Linked DNA regions of Homo sapiens: all the other regions are linked to region 4. The links are contacts of gene promoters, found by promoter capture Hi-C in blood cells and fetal thymus (Javierre and others, 2016). All regions are on one chromosome and are shown on one strand. The core of a region is centred on a gene start or on the middle of the fragment in contact, and the rest is flanking DNA. Distances in the headings are between cores, read along the strand shown. Region 1 holds the start of TRIM47 (tripartite motif containing 47). Region 2 overlaps MRPL38 (mitochondrial ribosomal protein L38). Region 3 holds the start of FBF1 (Fas binding factor 1). Region 4 holds the start of UBALD2 (UBA like domain containing 2). Region 5 has its middle 6.0 kb from the start of WBP2.

Region 1 (2,700 bases), core at 201-2,700, 390 kb after region 4:
TGTAATCCCAGCACTTTGGGAGGCCGAGGCGGGTGGATCACCTGAAGTCAGCAGTTCGAGACCAGCTTGGCCAACATGGTGAAACCCCGTCTCTACTAAAAATACAAAAATTAGCCAAATGTGGTGGCGGGCGCCTGTAATCCCAGCTACTCAAGAGTCCGAGGAGGGAGAATCGCTTGAACCCAGGAGACAGAGGTTGCAGTGAGCTGAGATTGCGCCACTGCACTCCAGCCTGGGCGACAAGAGCGAAACTCCATCTAAAAAAATAAAAATAAAAAAACATTATTTGGAATTTTCAATGCGAAATATGTCTGTTCTCCCCAGCTTGTTAATTTATTATTTATTTATATCGGCATGGACTCATAGATGTTTATTTTACACTTTGGGTTATAATCAGTGCTACTTTACTTATTTTGTTGTCATTCTGGTGTAGTGTTTTAACTTAACATTATTGAGATATAACTCATACAATAAAACGCACCACTTTAAGTGCATAATTAGATGAGCTTTAAATACTTCCAGTTGGGGAACCCCCAACCCCACCACAGGTGTCCCCAGTGTCCAGGGGCCAGAACTACATTCCTCAGACAAGGGACTTAGGGAATGACGTCAACTTCCCATTTCAGGTCTAGAAAAGTCCAAGTTCCCTACTTGGGGTAAAGAGTCGCTAAAGGAGCTGGGCGCTGTGGCTCACGCCTGTAATCCCAGCACTTTGGGAGGCCGAGGCAGGTGGATCACCTGAGGTCACGAGTTCAAGACCAGCCTGGACAAGGTGAAACTCCGTCTCTACAAAAAAATACAAAAATTTGCCTGGTGTGGTGGCAAGCGCCTATAATTCCAGCTACTTGGGAGGCTAAGGCAGGAGAATCACTTGAATCCGGGAGGCGGAGGTTGCAGTGAGCCGAGATAGCGCCCCTGCACTCCAGCCTGGGCGACAAGAGAGGAACTCTGTCTCAAAAAAAAAAAAAAAAAGAGTCGCTAAGGGGCAAAAACATATGTACATCAGCAGTTATTTTTCTCTGCAGTCAGCAGCTCAGGAACTTTGCTAAGGGTGCCAGGGAGGGGTCGAGCGCAAAGGTGCAGGCATGACACAGCTAGACGCGCCCAGCCCCTGCGGAGCGCTGGCCTGGCCCAGAAGGACCAGAGGGATGGAGGCTGAGTCCTTCCCATTCCTTCCACTGTACCTCTCGCGTTCTCCGCCCGCGCTCACTCAGTTTCACACCCTTTCAGCAGCGCCCTTCCTTAGGACCACGCGGACTCCCCTGGGGGTCGCGCGGGCTCGGAGGCCTCCCTGCGTTGTCTGGGCGGGGACTGGGAGTCCGCGGGCCCGCAGGCGGGCGGTGCTGCGGGGCGGGCCGAGCTGGGGGCGGGCGGGGGCCGGAGCCCTGGCCTAGGTCCCAGGGGGAGGTGCCGCGGCGCGAACGGCCCGGGTCCCTCCCAGGCCGGAGCACAATCGGCGGCGCCCTGGGCGGCCGCGGAGTCATGGACGGCAGTGGACCCTTCAGCTGCCCCATCTGCCTAGAGCCACTCCGGGAGCCGGTGACGCTGCCCTGCGGCCACAACTTCTGTCTCGCCTGCCTGGGCGCGCTCTGGCCGCATCGTGGCGCGAGTGGAGCCGGCGGACCCGGAGGCGCGGCCCGCTGCCCGCTGTGCCAGGAGCCCTTCCCCGACGGCCTTCAGCTCCGCAAGAACCACACGCTGTCCGAGCTGCTGCAGCTCCGCCAGGGCTCGGGCCCCGGGTCCGGCCCCGGCCCGGCCCCTGCCCTGGCCCCGGAGCCCTCGGCACCCAGCGCGCTGCCCAGTGTCCCGGAGCCGTCGGCCCCCTGCGCTCCCGAGCCGTGGCCCGCGGGCGAAGAGCCAGTGCGCTGCGACGCGTGCCCCGAGGGCGCGGCCCTGCCCGCCGCGCTGTCCTGCCTCTCCTGCCTCGCCTCCTTTTGCCCCGCGCACCTGGGCCCGCACGAGCGCAGCCCCGCCCTCCGCGGACACCGCCTGGTGCCGCCGCTGCGCCGGCTAGAGGAGAGCCTGTGCCCGCGCCACCTACGGCCGCTCGAGCGCTACTGCCGCGCGGAGCGCGTGTGTCTGTGCGAGGCCTGCGCCGCACAGGAGCACCGCGGCCACGAGCTGGTGCCGCTGGAGCAGGAGCGCGCGCTTCAGGAGGTGGGCTCCGGGGGCACACTCGGGTGAGCCGGGGCTGGTGACCGACCGCGCGCGAGCGGGCCGAGGACCTTGGACCCCCCAGTCTTCCCGGGTTGGGTCTTAATCTCCTCCTCTAACCTGAGGATCTTTGCGGTCCCTTCCAGCCTTGACAAGGTCATCTGCTGGCGGTGATGGAGATGGGAAGGGAGGAAGGAGGGACGTGAGAACAGGACAAGGACGCGAAGAGCGGGCAGGGGACCTGAAGCCGGGCCGGGGTCTATGGGGGTGTAGGCGGGAGGGAGCCGGGTTAGGCCCGCGGGGTTCCGGTAGCGTGGCTGCTGCTCCCGCCCGGAGGGTCACGCCGGTCTCAGCTCAGATTTGCCCTGGGCTGAGGCAGCAGCTTTCGATGGGTGTGGCAGGCGGCAGGAGGGCGGCAGAGGGCGACCGGGCACACAGATTCTCTGTCCAGCTGTTCCGGGGGCCAGTGGTGGGAGCATGTGAGCCGCGGCCTCTACCTCCCGCCCCCAGTTTCCTTTGGCCTCCAGCCCGGTCTTGGCGCCTCTG
Region 2 (2,700 bases), core at 153-2,652, 360 kb after region 4:
ATGGTGTACACTTGTAGCCCCAGCTACTCAGGAGACTGAGTTGGGGAGGTTAAGGCTGCAGTGAGTCATGACCCTGTTTTTCCCACACATCTTCCCACTCCAGATCCCAAAGAGAAGATTGATATTGGGCTGCCTCCACCCAAAGTCTCCCGGACCCAACAGCTACTGGAACGGAAACAGGCCATCCAGGAGCTTCGGGCCAATGTGGAAGAGGAGCGGGCTGCCCGCCTCCGCACAGGTAAGCCTTCTCAGGGGAGGGGCCATCCCAGAGTTGGGGTACAGGGTGTGTCCCTGCCCCCCCCACCCCCGTATCCCAACTGGCCTTATTCCTGTCTAGCCAGTGTCCCGCTGGATGCCGTGCGGGCCGAGTGGGAGAGGACCTGTGGCCCCTACCACAAGCAGCGTCTGGCTGAGTATTACGGCCTCTACCGAGACCTGTTCCACGGTGCCACCTTTGTGCCCCGAGTCCCCCTGCACGTGGCCTACGCTGTGGGTGAGGATGACCTGATGCCTGTGTACTGTGGCAATGAGGTGACTCCAACCGAGGTAACCACTCACTTGTGCCCCTCCTCCCTGCCCTGTGCAAACACAGACACATCCCATCTCAGTGTCACAGACACTCCTGGGTTTGGAATTTTGTTGTTCTCTGTCTCTTTGATTTCCTGGAAGACGACACCATGACAATTTCAAAGAAAATAGAACAAAATGAAGGAAAAAGAGGCTCTGTCTTAGCACATTCCTGTGACCAGCCTGCTGTCTGTGGTGTGCCCTCCTGGCCCGGCCTTGGCACATGTTCGTTTTTGTGGTTGTTGCCTGGACAGGCAACTCTGCAGGGCTGCTTCTCTACGCATCCCTTTGCCTGCCTGCCTGTGCCAGGGGTTGTCAAGGGCTTTTGGGTCAGAGTGGGCACCCCTTTCTCCAAGGCTCCCTGCAACAGCTGGCCTGTCCCTGGTGGGGCTGACAGCTTCCTTCTCACCCTGCCAGGCTGCCCAAGCGCCAGAGGTGACCTATGAGGCAGAAGAGGGCTCCTTGTGGACGTTGCTACTCACTAGCTTGGGTGGGTGTCTGGGGCTCACCAGGCCTCCTGCCCCGCTCACCTCCTATGAGCCAGGGCCCTGGGGGGCTGGGGGAGGGGCCAGGTGGAGATCTCCAGCGCTGGCTCCTAACAAGGGAGGGGGTGGCAGGGCCGTGGTCGGCTGGGCCGTGGTCAGCAGGTGTGTTTTTGTGCAGATGGGCACCTGCTGGAGCCAGATGCTGAGTACCTCCACTGGCTGCTGTGAGTACTGGAGTACTGGGGGTAGGGGGTGCTGCCCAGGCGGGAAGAGGAGCTGGGAGCCTGGACTGAGCTGCTCCTGAGTTTCATGGACTACCCATGGGACCTTGAATTCACCTGCCACCTCTGCCTCCTGAGGGTGTTAGGGGCCCTGGGATCCACGTGTCTACTTGAAGACAGCTACAGGAGACAAAGTTTGCAGTAGGCCTCGGTCAGTCCCCACAAGCCTCCTCATCTTTTCTTTTCTTTTTTTTTTTTTTTTTTGAGACAGGGTCTCACTCTGTCCCCCAGGCTGGAGTACAGTGGTGCAATCATGGCTAATTGCAGCCGCTAACTCCTGGGCTCAGGTGCTCTTCCCACCTCAGTCTCCTGAGTAGCTGGGACTACAGGTGCAAACCACTACACCCAGCTAATTTTTGTATTTTTTTATAGAGACAGGGTTTCACCATGTTGCCCAGGCTGGTCTCCTGAGCTCAAGCGATCTGCCCGCCTCCGCCTCCCAAAGTGCTAGGATTATAAGCGTGAGCCACCATGCCTGGGCCCTTCGTCTCTAAACTCATTTCTTCACCTGTAAAACTGGGATAATGGCACCACATGCCTTACTCAGCGTGAGGTGGACTGTGACAGTCACGTGGGAGAAGGAGCGGGAGAGGCCTAGCAGCTGTGGCGTCCCCCAGGTGCTCCTTGAACCACTGGGCGCTCCTTCCCTGGGCCCAGACTGGGCGGCCTTCCATCTTGGTAGCTTTTGGCTCTGAACACCAGGCCAGGGGGCAGAGGTCAGGCCAGTGACCCCAACTTTGAGCCTTCTGGTTAACTGGGGACAGTGACTGGGAGGCTGGTTTCCGTCATTTTTATTCAACTGTTACCAGCCTATGCGGCAGGACCCTCTGGGGATTTGTGCCTGAGGCGTTGGCCGCCCCTGTGCCAGGCTGGGCACACACTCCCTGACGAGGTCCTGGAGACTTCAGGACGCAGAGGGAAAAGCAGCCAAAAGTGGCCTGGCTTTCTAGCCTCAGTGACTGTGGCGGACCCACCGGCTCCCGGGGCCTGGAAGCGGCTGCATGGCCTTGCTGTCAAGCTGATGCTCTCTGGAGCCCTGTCCCCCACTCGGAGCTCCTCCAGCCCGCTTCCCGTATTTGCAGCATGTCCCGGCGTTCACAGAGCTTGGCTGCCTCCTCTGTCCCAGGAGAGAGATGCTTAGAGCTGTCCTCCCAGGGAGTCATGTCAGCCTCTAGGGTGTGCATGGAGCTGAGGGGACACTCCTGCTGCCTCCCTGGAGTGGTAATTAACCGGGACTTTCCTCCTCCCAGAACCAACATCCCGGGTAACCGGGTGGCTGAAGGACAGGTGACGTGTCCCTACCTCCCCCCCTTCCCTGCCCGAGGCTCCGGCATCCACCGTCTTGCCTTCCTGCTCTTCAAGCAGGA
Region 3 (2,700 bases), core at 96-2,595, 320 kb after region 4:
GAAATCTTGGCTCACTGCAACCTCTGCCTCCCGGGTTCAAGCAATTCTCTGCCTCAGCCTCCTGAGAAGCTGGGATTACAGCGCCTGCCACCATGCCTGTCTAGTTTTTTTGTATTTTTAGTAGAGACAGGGGTTTCACCAAGTTGGCCAGGCTGGTCTTGAACTCCTGACCTCGTGATCCACCCACCTCGGCCTCCCAAAGTGCTGGGATTACAGGCGTGAGCCACCGTGCCGGGCCAGTGTTTTTAACTGTCCACACTTACTAAATTTTCCAGTACTTCTTCCTATGGTTCATGATAGTAAACACAGAAACATATAAGGAACATTATTAGAGTTACCAGATGTTAGCTGTTGCATATGTGCACATTCCTAGATTCAAGGGTGTTTTTGCCTTAAATTTAAGTGGGTCATTGGTTGTCTTGGGAAGATCATGGAAAATTCGGGATTTTTTAGAATTCTGAACCAAAATATGTTTTGAGTGTTTCTTAGTAAATGTGTGATCTTCCACCTTCCACATTCAGACTGCGGACTACACTTCATAAATGCCTTTTTATTTCCAGTTATGGATTCAACTAAATGACTGCCTTGGGAGCACATAATTACTTTGCTACCTTTTTCCCCCTTTGCTGTTGTGGCTCGAGTTTGGTTCTCACCTGAGAAGATGCATTGAGCATATGTTGTTACCCAGCCCTGGCTTAATGGTGTCCTGTGGGGTAGGGGTGGGAGGACGAGGGGCACGGGGCCAGAGCATGTGAATGGATCATGGTTGGACAGCTGTGACCTGCCAGCACTGCGGGTAAGCAAAACTACAAACCGTTCTTTCCTCTGTGACATTGAATAAACCTTAATAAAATTCATAATTAGCACATACTAGAAAAAATGTGACTTAATCTTTTTGTGGGGCGACAGTATTGGGTTTCATTCTGGCTATACAGCTTTGATTGGATCATTAAACAGGTCAGTCACTTCCCTCAAGCTTTGGGGTGTGGAATAAACACCGGTGAATTTGTGGATTCACCCGTCAACCTCCCAATATCAACACATTTCTCACGCCTCCGCGTCGGCCACGTGTCAGCCCTCAGAAGTGGGCAGGAGGAACTTTTAAGCTTCCCGGCAGTTCCCAAGAGGGCCTTTGAGCCTGGCGCCCTCTTCCCGGAGAGGCGTTGGGGCAGCTCCTAGCAACGTGCCCGCCGCCGGCAGAAGCCCGGCCCCGCCAACTGCCGCGCGCGGCTCCCTGGGAGCTGTAGTTCTTCATGGCGTCCCCACCTCCTCTGTGAGGGCGGGTGAGTCGACCGCCGACTGCGACTCCCAGGATGCCTCGCGCCCGCCTTTCCGCGGGAGGCCAGACGGCTGAGGGTGCCGGCAGCGGCTGGAAGCGGGAGGCCAGTCCTGGCCGGGCTGGGCGACCCGAATGGAGCCAGGGCCGGCGCTGGTCCCAGCGGCCGCACCTCCGGGGGCACGGCGCGTAACAGGAGGCTTCCGGGGCTGAGAGCGTTACAGGCTGCGCTCCGGGGCCAGATAGGCCGGGCGCTCAGAAGGGTGACGCATTGAGGGGCGCGGAGTCTCGGGACGGAGGGGCGACTCCGGCTAGGGGTCTTGCTTAGGGGTGGTCTCGGGATCTGTAAAACGCCTGGCATGGAGTCGGCTGAATACATGTGGGGACGGGGTTACTCTGTAGCCCTTTGGCCTTGGCAAACCAAGCCTAGAAAATCCCCATAGTCTGAGAAGCCCGTACAGGATCGATAGGAGATGCCAGAAGTTCCTTGATGTGTTATGGGACACATTTGGACTTGTAGGTCGTGAAGTCGCCATTGCAGAGAAAAAGAAACAAGGCCGGGCACGGTGGCTCACGCCTGTAATCCCGACACTTTGGGAGGCCAAGGCGGGAGGATCACTTGAGGCCAGGCGTCTGGGACGACCCTGGGCAACATAGGGAGACCCCCGTCTCTACAAAAAAAATTTTAAAATTTGCCGCACATGGTGGCGTGTGCCTGTGGTCCCAGCTGCTAGGGAGGCTGACATTGGAGGATCGCCTGAGCCCAAGGAGGTCGAGGCTGCAGTAAGCTATGAGAGCTGTGATCGTGCCACTGCACTCCAGCCTGGGCAACAGAGCGAGACCCTGTCTGGAAAAAAAAAAAAGAAAGAAGGCCAGGCGTGGTGGCTCACACCTGTAATCCTAGCACTTTGGGAGGCCGAGACGGGCAGATCACGAGGTCAGGAGTTCGAGACCTCCTGGCCAACAGTGAAACCCCGTCTCTACTAAAAATACAAAAATTAACCGGGCATGGTGGCATGTGCCTGTATTCCCAGCTACTCGGGAGGCTGAGGCAGGAGATTCGCTTGAACCCGGGAGGCTGAGGTTGTGGTGAGCCAAGATCGCACCACTGCACTCCATCCTGGGCAACAGAGCAAGACTCCGTCTAAAAAAAGAAAAAAAAGAAAACACATGTATTCAGGGTGGGCTCTGTAGGTAAGCCCAGATAACCCTTGCATTCCAATAACAGGACAGGCCAATACTTGGGACATAAAGAGGACCCCTCTGACTCCTTTCTTCCAGGACATCCTGTAGGTGGGTTTTGGTAAAGTGGAGGAGGGGGAGGGAGACAGCTAATTCCGAGGAAAATGTTCTCAATGGGTCAGATTTACTGCCTATGTAAAGGGAAATATTTCCACTGTCAGTGAAAATCGTGTTGCTGGACG
Region 4 (2,700 bases), core at 115-2,614:
GGGCAAAAGCTTGGGCCTGGGCTAGAATGAAAAAGAAAGCAAATCCAGACCCCGGACCACTTCTCTGTGTGCTGGGCTGGTGGAGCTCAACACAGAGATTAAAGACACATTCCTGGCCTTATCTTGGGTCAAAATCTGTGTGTCCTCCTGGCTTGGGGGATGTATGTCCTTCCAACTTCCCAGTCCCCTTGGGCTTCGGAAGGTTGAACAGATCTTTGTGGGTAGAGCCCGGCTTCCTGAGCCAGGGTGGATTCATGCCTTTCCTGTTCCCTGTAGCGCTGGGTGTGTGTGTGTGTGGAGGGGGAGGGGGGAAACCACTCAACAGCACGAGGGGGTCCCCATAAACACAAGCACCCCCATCGCCCTCCCTGGGCCCTTCGCGCGGGCTTCCCAGTGCCCCAGACGTCCGGGCATCACCCTCTCCCCCTCCCCATCCCCTGGCTCTGGGGTCCCCCAGCTCCTGAGCCCCTCGCCAGGCCCCCGGCCCTCTCCCCCTCCCCCCAACTTTGGCGCCGCTTCCCCCCAGGGACCAGTGCCGGGCACCAGTCCCGAGGCCAAGCAGCAGCAGCCCGGGAGGCGGGCCTCAAAGTTGGAGGCGCCAGCGCCGGCCCGGGAGCCGCTCTTTCCTGGAAGACATTTTGGCTCTTTGTTTACATTCGCGGCGCGGCGCTCCCCGGCAACATGGCTGTCACCGCCGCGCTGACAGCGGCCCCGGCCCGCGCCCCTGCCCGCCGCCGCTTACCATCTGGTGGTGGTGGTGGCTGTTGGGAATGTTGGTTTCTTGGAAGAACGTGCTCAGCGCGGTCTGCGGACAAACAGGGCAGTGACACGGCGGGCCAGGCGGAGTCAGGAAACGCAGCGGCTGGGCCCCCCACCGGCTCTCCCCGCCTCCGCGCCCGGCCCGCGGCCCCCGACCCTCGGCTGCCCCACGTGCAGAGGGGAGCCGGTCCCGGCCCCGGTCCCGCGTAAGACCCGCTCGCGGGCGCCGATCGCCTTCCGGGCCGACAACAGGAGCGCTCCCCGCCCCCGCCGCCGCCCGGCGTCCCCGACCCCCGCGGCCCGGCCCCGCGGCGGCCAGGCTCGCACCTCGAACTGCCAGTGGGCCGCCTGCAGCAACTGCTTCGCCTGGTCGGCCGCGCAGCCCGCGGCCAGCACGAACTGGTTGATCATGACCTGGTGCCGCAGCTCGTCCATGTTCACCGACATGGCGCGGCGCGGCGCGGGGCCCGGCGTCTCCGGCCGGACGCAGACGCGGGGCTGCGCGGGCGCGGGAGGCCGGCCGCCCGGGGCTCCGGGGCTCGCGCTCACCGCTGCTGCCGCCGCTCCGCCGCCCGCTCCGCCGCCGCCCGCCCGGCGAATGTTGTGGTTCGACTCCCGCGGCCCGGCCGACACCACAAACAACAGCGCGGGGCGGGGCTGGGCCGGCCCAACGTTCGGGGACTGCCGCTGATTGGCCGGGGCGCCGCTCCGCCAGCGCCCGGCTCCCGTAAGGACGTTCGATTCGAATCCTGCGGCCTGTGGGGCCCTCACTGTTTCTCTTTTCGCCCGGCCGCGCCCATTGGCGGAGCTCGGCGCCGTGGGGCTCCCCAGCATTGGCCGGCCGCTGTGTTTTGGCTCATCCGGCCTCGTGGTTGGTCACGGCCGGGCGTTCGGGGCGGGGCCGCGCACTCTGATTGGCCTCCGGTGGTCCTGTTTGAACTCAACTTGAAAACCCGGAGTGCCTGCTGATTGGCCGAGGGCCCTCTGTTTGCTGTTGTAGGCTTGGGGGTGGTGCGGCCAAGTTCATTCATTACTTCATTGAAACAGAACATGCTCAGCTGGAAAAGCAAGACAGAGTGGCTTTGACTCATTTCCTCTGAAAGATGTGGTCATCTCGAGAAACAGAATGATCAAAATAGAAAACAGAGCCTTTGCAGCTGCTCAAGTCTCAAAAGCATGTAATTTTTAAAAATAACTTTCAAGCAGTCCAATTTAAAAAAATCTTTTATTGAAATATAACGTACATTAGGAAAGTGCGATGTCGCAGGTACAGCTTCCAGACTTTTCACCAAGTGAACACCCAGATCAATTAACAGAACGTTACTTGCACCCTAGGAACCCGCGTCCTGCCCTCTTCTAATCACTACCCACCGCAAGGATCGAGCAGTATTTTCTCAGTTTTTAGACCAAAGACTTTGCTCTCTGAAGATGGAAGCCAAGATTTATGTACAATAAATACGATATGCAAGGAAATATGCAAGGAAAAAAGTGAGACTTTCTCAGTGGCCAAAATGCCAAGTCAAGAATTTTTTCTTGTTAAATCGGTTGACCTAACTGAAGCTTTAATTTTCTTTTTTTTTTTTTCTCTTGCTTGTCACGAAAGCTAAGATGAAGCTTTAATTTCTACCATCTTTTAAAAAAACAACGGGTGGCAGTAGGGGTGGAGTCTGGGGTTGGGATGGCTTACACCTATAATCCCAGCACTTTGGGAGGCCGAGACAGGAGGATAACTTGAGGCCGGGAGTTCAACACCAGCTTGGGCAACATAGCACAGACTCCATCTCTACCAAATAAAAACAAACAATAACAAACAGTGAGTGTTTCTACAGAGATACTGTTTCTCAGTGGTAGCCCTTTAAAGTCCAAAATTTGGTGGTGGTGGTTGTTAGATAGGGCTAGAGTGACATGATCATGGCTCACTGTAACTTCGAGCGATCCTCT
Region 5 (2,700 bases), core at 74-2,573, 400 kb after region 4:
TCAACAATCAAAATGGGCCAGGTGCGGTGGCTCACGCCTGTAATCCCAGCACTGTGGGAGGCCGAGGCGGGCACATCACGAGGTCAGGAGATCGAGACCATCCTGGCTAACACGGTGGAACCCCCCCCGTCTCTACTAAAAATACAAAAAAATTAGCTGGGCGTGGTGGCGGGCGCCTGTAGTCCCAGCTACTCGGGAGGCTGAGGCAGGAGAATGGCGTGAATCCCGGAGGCGGAGCTTGCAGTGAGCTGAGATCGCGCCAGTGCACTCCAGCCTGGGCGACAGAGTGAGACTCCGTCTCAAAACAAACAAACAAACAAAAACAATCAAAATGTATTGTCTCAGTGCTGGAGACCGAAGTCTGGAATCAAGGTACGGGCAGGGTTGACTCCTTCTGAGGCTGTGAGAGCGAATCTGTCCCCTGACGCTCTCCTTGCTTCTGGTGGTTTGTTGACAATATGTAGCAATCCGTGTAGCAATCTTGGTAGCTCTCTGCCTCCCTCTTTGCACCGCCTGCCTTCTCCCTGCGTGTGTGTCTGTGTCCAAGTTTCTCCTTCTTACAAGGGCACCAGTCACGCTGGATTTAGGGCCCACCCTAATGATCTCATCTTAACTAATGATGTCTTCAACAACCCTATTTCCAAATAAGGTCACTTTCAGAGGTACTGCAGGTCAGGACTTCAACATGTGAATTTGAAGTCGGGGGGACCGAACTCAACTCATAACACCCACCCACCCAACTCAGCTTCATGGTCTGGCTGGGACTCAGAGCCACATGTCTTTGTTTTCTTAATTTTATTTTTTATTACTACTTTTTGAGATGAAGTCTTGCCCTGTCGCCCAGGCTGGAGTGCAGTGGTGCGATCTTGGCTCACTGCAAGCTCTGCCTCCTGGATTCCAGAGATTTTCTTGCCTCAGCCTCCTGAGTAGCTGGGACTACAGGCACACGCCACCACGCCCAGATAATTTTCGTATTTTTAGTAGAGATGGGGTTTCACCGTGTTGCCCAGGCTGGCCTCGAACGCCTGCCCTCAGGTGATCCACCTGCCTGGGCCTCCCAAACTGCTATGATTACAGGCATGAGCCAATGCACCCAGAGCCACGTTTCTCCATTGCCTGCTGCTCCCTGCCAGGCTCTGCCAAGAGGGGGCGCTAGAGAGGCCTGAAGGGCTGGAGAAGGCCCCAGCCTCCCATCTGCTCACTATTTTTGCCTGTATTGTACCCAGGAAAGCTTCTTCATTGGGGCAGCTGCAGTTCTTTAGCAGCAGCTGAATCCAGTTTCTACTTTTTCCAACCCTTGCAGAACCAGCTACCCTGAGCTCCCTTCAGAGGCACGGGCACCAGCACCAGCCGGCCCAGGCCCGCTCTTCAGAGGGCTGGGTTTTAGTACCCTGGGGCTCCTCTTTCAAGCTTCTGTATTATTGTTGATTTTGGTGTTTTGTTTTGTTTTTTGAGATGGGGGTCTCACTCTGTCACCCAGGCTGGAGTGCAATGGTGCGAACTCAGCTCACTGCAGCCTCTGCCTCCTGAGCGAAGCAATCCTCCCACCTCAGCCTCCTGAGTAGCTGGGACTACAGGTGCGCTCCACCACCCCCGGCTAACTTTTTGTATTTTTAGTAGAGATGGGGGCTTCACCATGTTGGCCAGGCTGGTCTCAAACTCCTGACCTCAAGTGTCCGCCGTGAGCCACCACGCCGGCAGCACTTTTTTTTTTTTTGAGTTTCACTCTTTTTGCCCAGGCTGGAGTGCAATGGCGCCATCTCGGCTCACTGCAACCTCCGTCTTCCAGATTCCAGCTATTCTCCTGCCTCAGCCTCCCGAGTAGCTGGGATTACAGGCTTGCGCCACCATGCCCGGCTAATTTTGTAGTTTTAGTAGAGACGGGGTTTCACCATGTTGGCCAGGCTGGTCTTGAACTCCTGACTCAGGTGATCTGCCCGCCTCGGCTTCCCAAAGTGCTGGGATTAGAGGTGCGAGCCACCGAGCCCGGCCCTTTCAGCAATTTTTTTTTTTTTTTTTGAGACGGAGTCTCACTCTGTCGCCGAGACTGGAGTGCAGTGGCTCGATCTCTGCTCACTGCAAGCTCCGCCTCCTGGGTTCACGCCATTCTCCTGCCTCAGCCTCCTGAGTAGCTGGGACTACAGGTGCTCACCACCACACCCGGCTAATTTTTTTGTATTTTTTTTTTTTAGTAGAGACAGGGTTTCACCGTGTTAGCCAGGATGGTCTTGATCTCCTGACCTCGTGATCTGCCTGCCTCGGCCTCCCAAAGTGCTGGATTTACAGGCGTCAGCAACTGCGCCCGGCTGCTTGCAGCAATTTTTTAAGATGACAAAATAAAACAGAAAATTTCAGAATATATCCCACTACAAAATACAAATTAAGCAGCATGTGGTGGTGGCAGGGCCTGTACTCTCAGCTACTTGGGAGGCTGAGGCAGGACCACTGCTTGATGCCAGGAGTTCAAGACCATCCTGGGCAACATAATGGAACCCCATCTCTACCAAAAAAATTTTTTAAACTAGCCAGGCATGGTGATGTGCACTTGTAGTCCCAGCTACTTAGGAGGCTGACGTAAAAAGATTGCTTGAGCCCGGGAGGTTGAAGGTGCAGTAAGCCATGACTGCACCACTCCAGCCTGAGTGACAATGTAAGACAGGGTCTCGCTCTGTCACCCAGGCTGGTCTCAAACTCCTGGGC

What was found. Contacts are between HindIII fragments. The CHiCAGO score rates a contact against its expected background, and 5 or more counts as called.
Region 1: a contact is called between the fragment with the promoter of TRIM47 here and the fragment with the promoter of UBALD2 in region 4, in 10 of 17 cell types (fetal thymus, erythroblasts, endothelial precursors and 7 more). The highest score is 8.8, in fetal thymus.
Region 2: a contact is called between a fragment that was not itself captured here and the fragment with the promoter of UBALD2 in region 4, in 4 of 17 cell types (endothelial precursors, naive CD4 T cells, neutrophils and 1 more). The highest score is 7.7, in endothelial precursors.
Region 3: a contact is called between the fragment with the promoter of FBF1 here and the fragment with the promoter of UBALD2 in region 4, in 1 of 17 cell types (endothelial precursors). The highest score is 5.4, in endothelial precursors.
Region 5: a contact is called between a fragment that was not itself captured here and the fragment with the promoter of UBALD2 in region 4, in 1 of 17 cell types (erythroblasts). The highest score is 5.4, in erythroblasts.

The regions. Positions count from the first base shown.
Region 1 is chr17:75,877,331-75,880,030 of GRCh38, reverse strand. TRIM47 (tripartite motif containing 47) reads left to right here and starts at 1,450. Exons shown (of 6, transcript NM_033452.3): 1 at 1,450-2,157. The coding sequence starts at 1,483. It also overlaps a transcript of TRIM65 not described here. RefSeq lists silencers at 1,266-1,615, 1,746-2,125, 2,136-2,315 and enhancers at 1,160-2,075, 2,076-2,700. The HindIII fragment of the contact is 18,500 bases long and covers 1-2,700 here.
Region 2 is chr17:75,899,558-75,902,257 of GRCh38, reverse strand. It overlaps MRPL38 (mitochondrial ribosomal protein L38), which reads left to right. Exons shown (of 9, transcript NM_032478.4): 3 at 104-238; 4 at 338-546; 5 at 985-1,057; 6 at 1,231-1,276; 7 at 2,584-2,700. Among named protein-coding and RNA genes, the nearest start is that of TRIM65, 4.0 kb to the right of the region's middle. The HindIII fragment of the contact is 3,542 bases long and covers 1-2,700 here.
Region 3 is chr17:75,939,687-75,942,386 of GRCh38, reverse strand. FBF1 (Fas binding factor 1) reads left to right here and starts at 1,345. Exons shown (of 30, transcript NM_001319193.2): 1 at 1,345-1,539. ACOX1 (acyl-CoA oxidase 1) reads left to right here. Exons shown (of 14, transcript NM_004035.7): 14 at 1-880. RefSeq lists an enhancer at 1,127-1,196 and a silencer at 1,307-1,576. The HindIII fragment of the contact is 5,734 bases long and covers 1,109-2,700 here.
Region 4 is chr17:76,264,012-76,266,711 of GRCh38, reverse strand. It overlaps UBALD2 (UBA like domain containing 2), which reads right to left and starts at 1,364. Exons shown (of 3, transcript NM_182565.4): 1 at 1,087-1,364; 2 at 743-805. The coding sequence starts at 1,206. It overlaps LOC105371896 (a long non-coding RNA gene), which reads left to right and starts at 1,631. Exons shown (of 6, transcript XR_007065913.1): 1 at 1,631-2,700. RefSeq lists enhancers at 552-651, 1,912-1,961 and silencers at 822-961, 1,262-1,561. The HindIII fragment of the contact is 2,310 bases long and covers 12-2,321 here.
Region 5 is chr17:75,859,937-75,862,636 of GRCh38, reverse strand. No RefSeq gene overlaps it. Among named protein-coding and RNA genes, the nearest start is that of WBP2, 6.0 kb to the right of the region's middle. The HindIII fragment of the contact is 179 bases long and covers 1,234-1,412 here.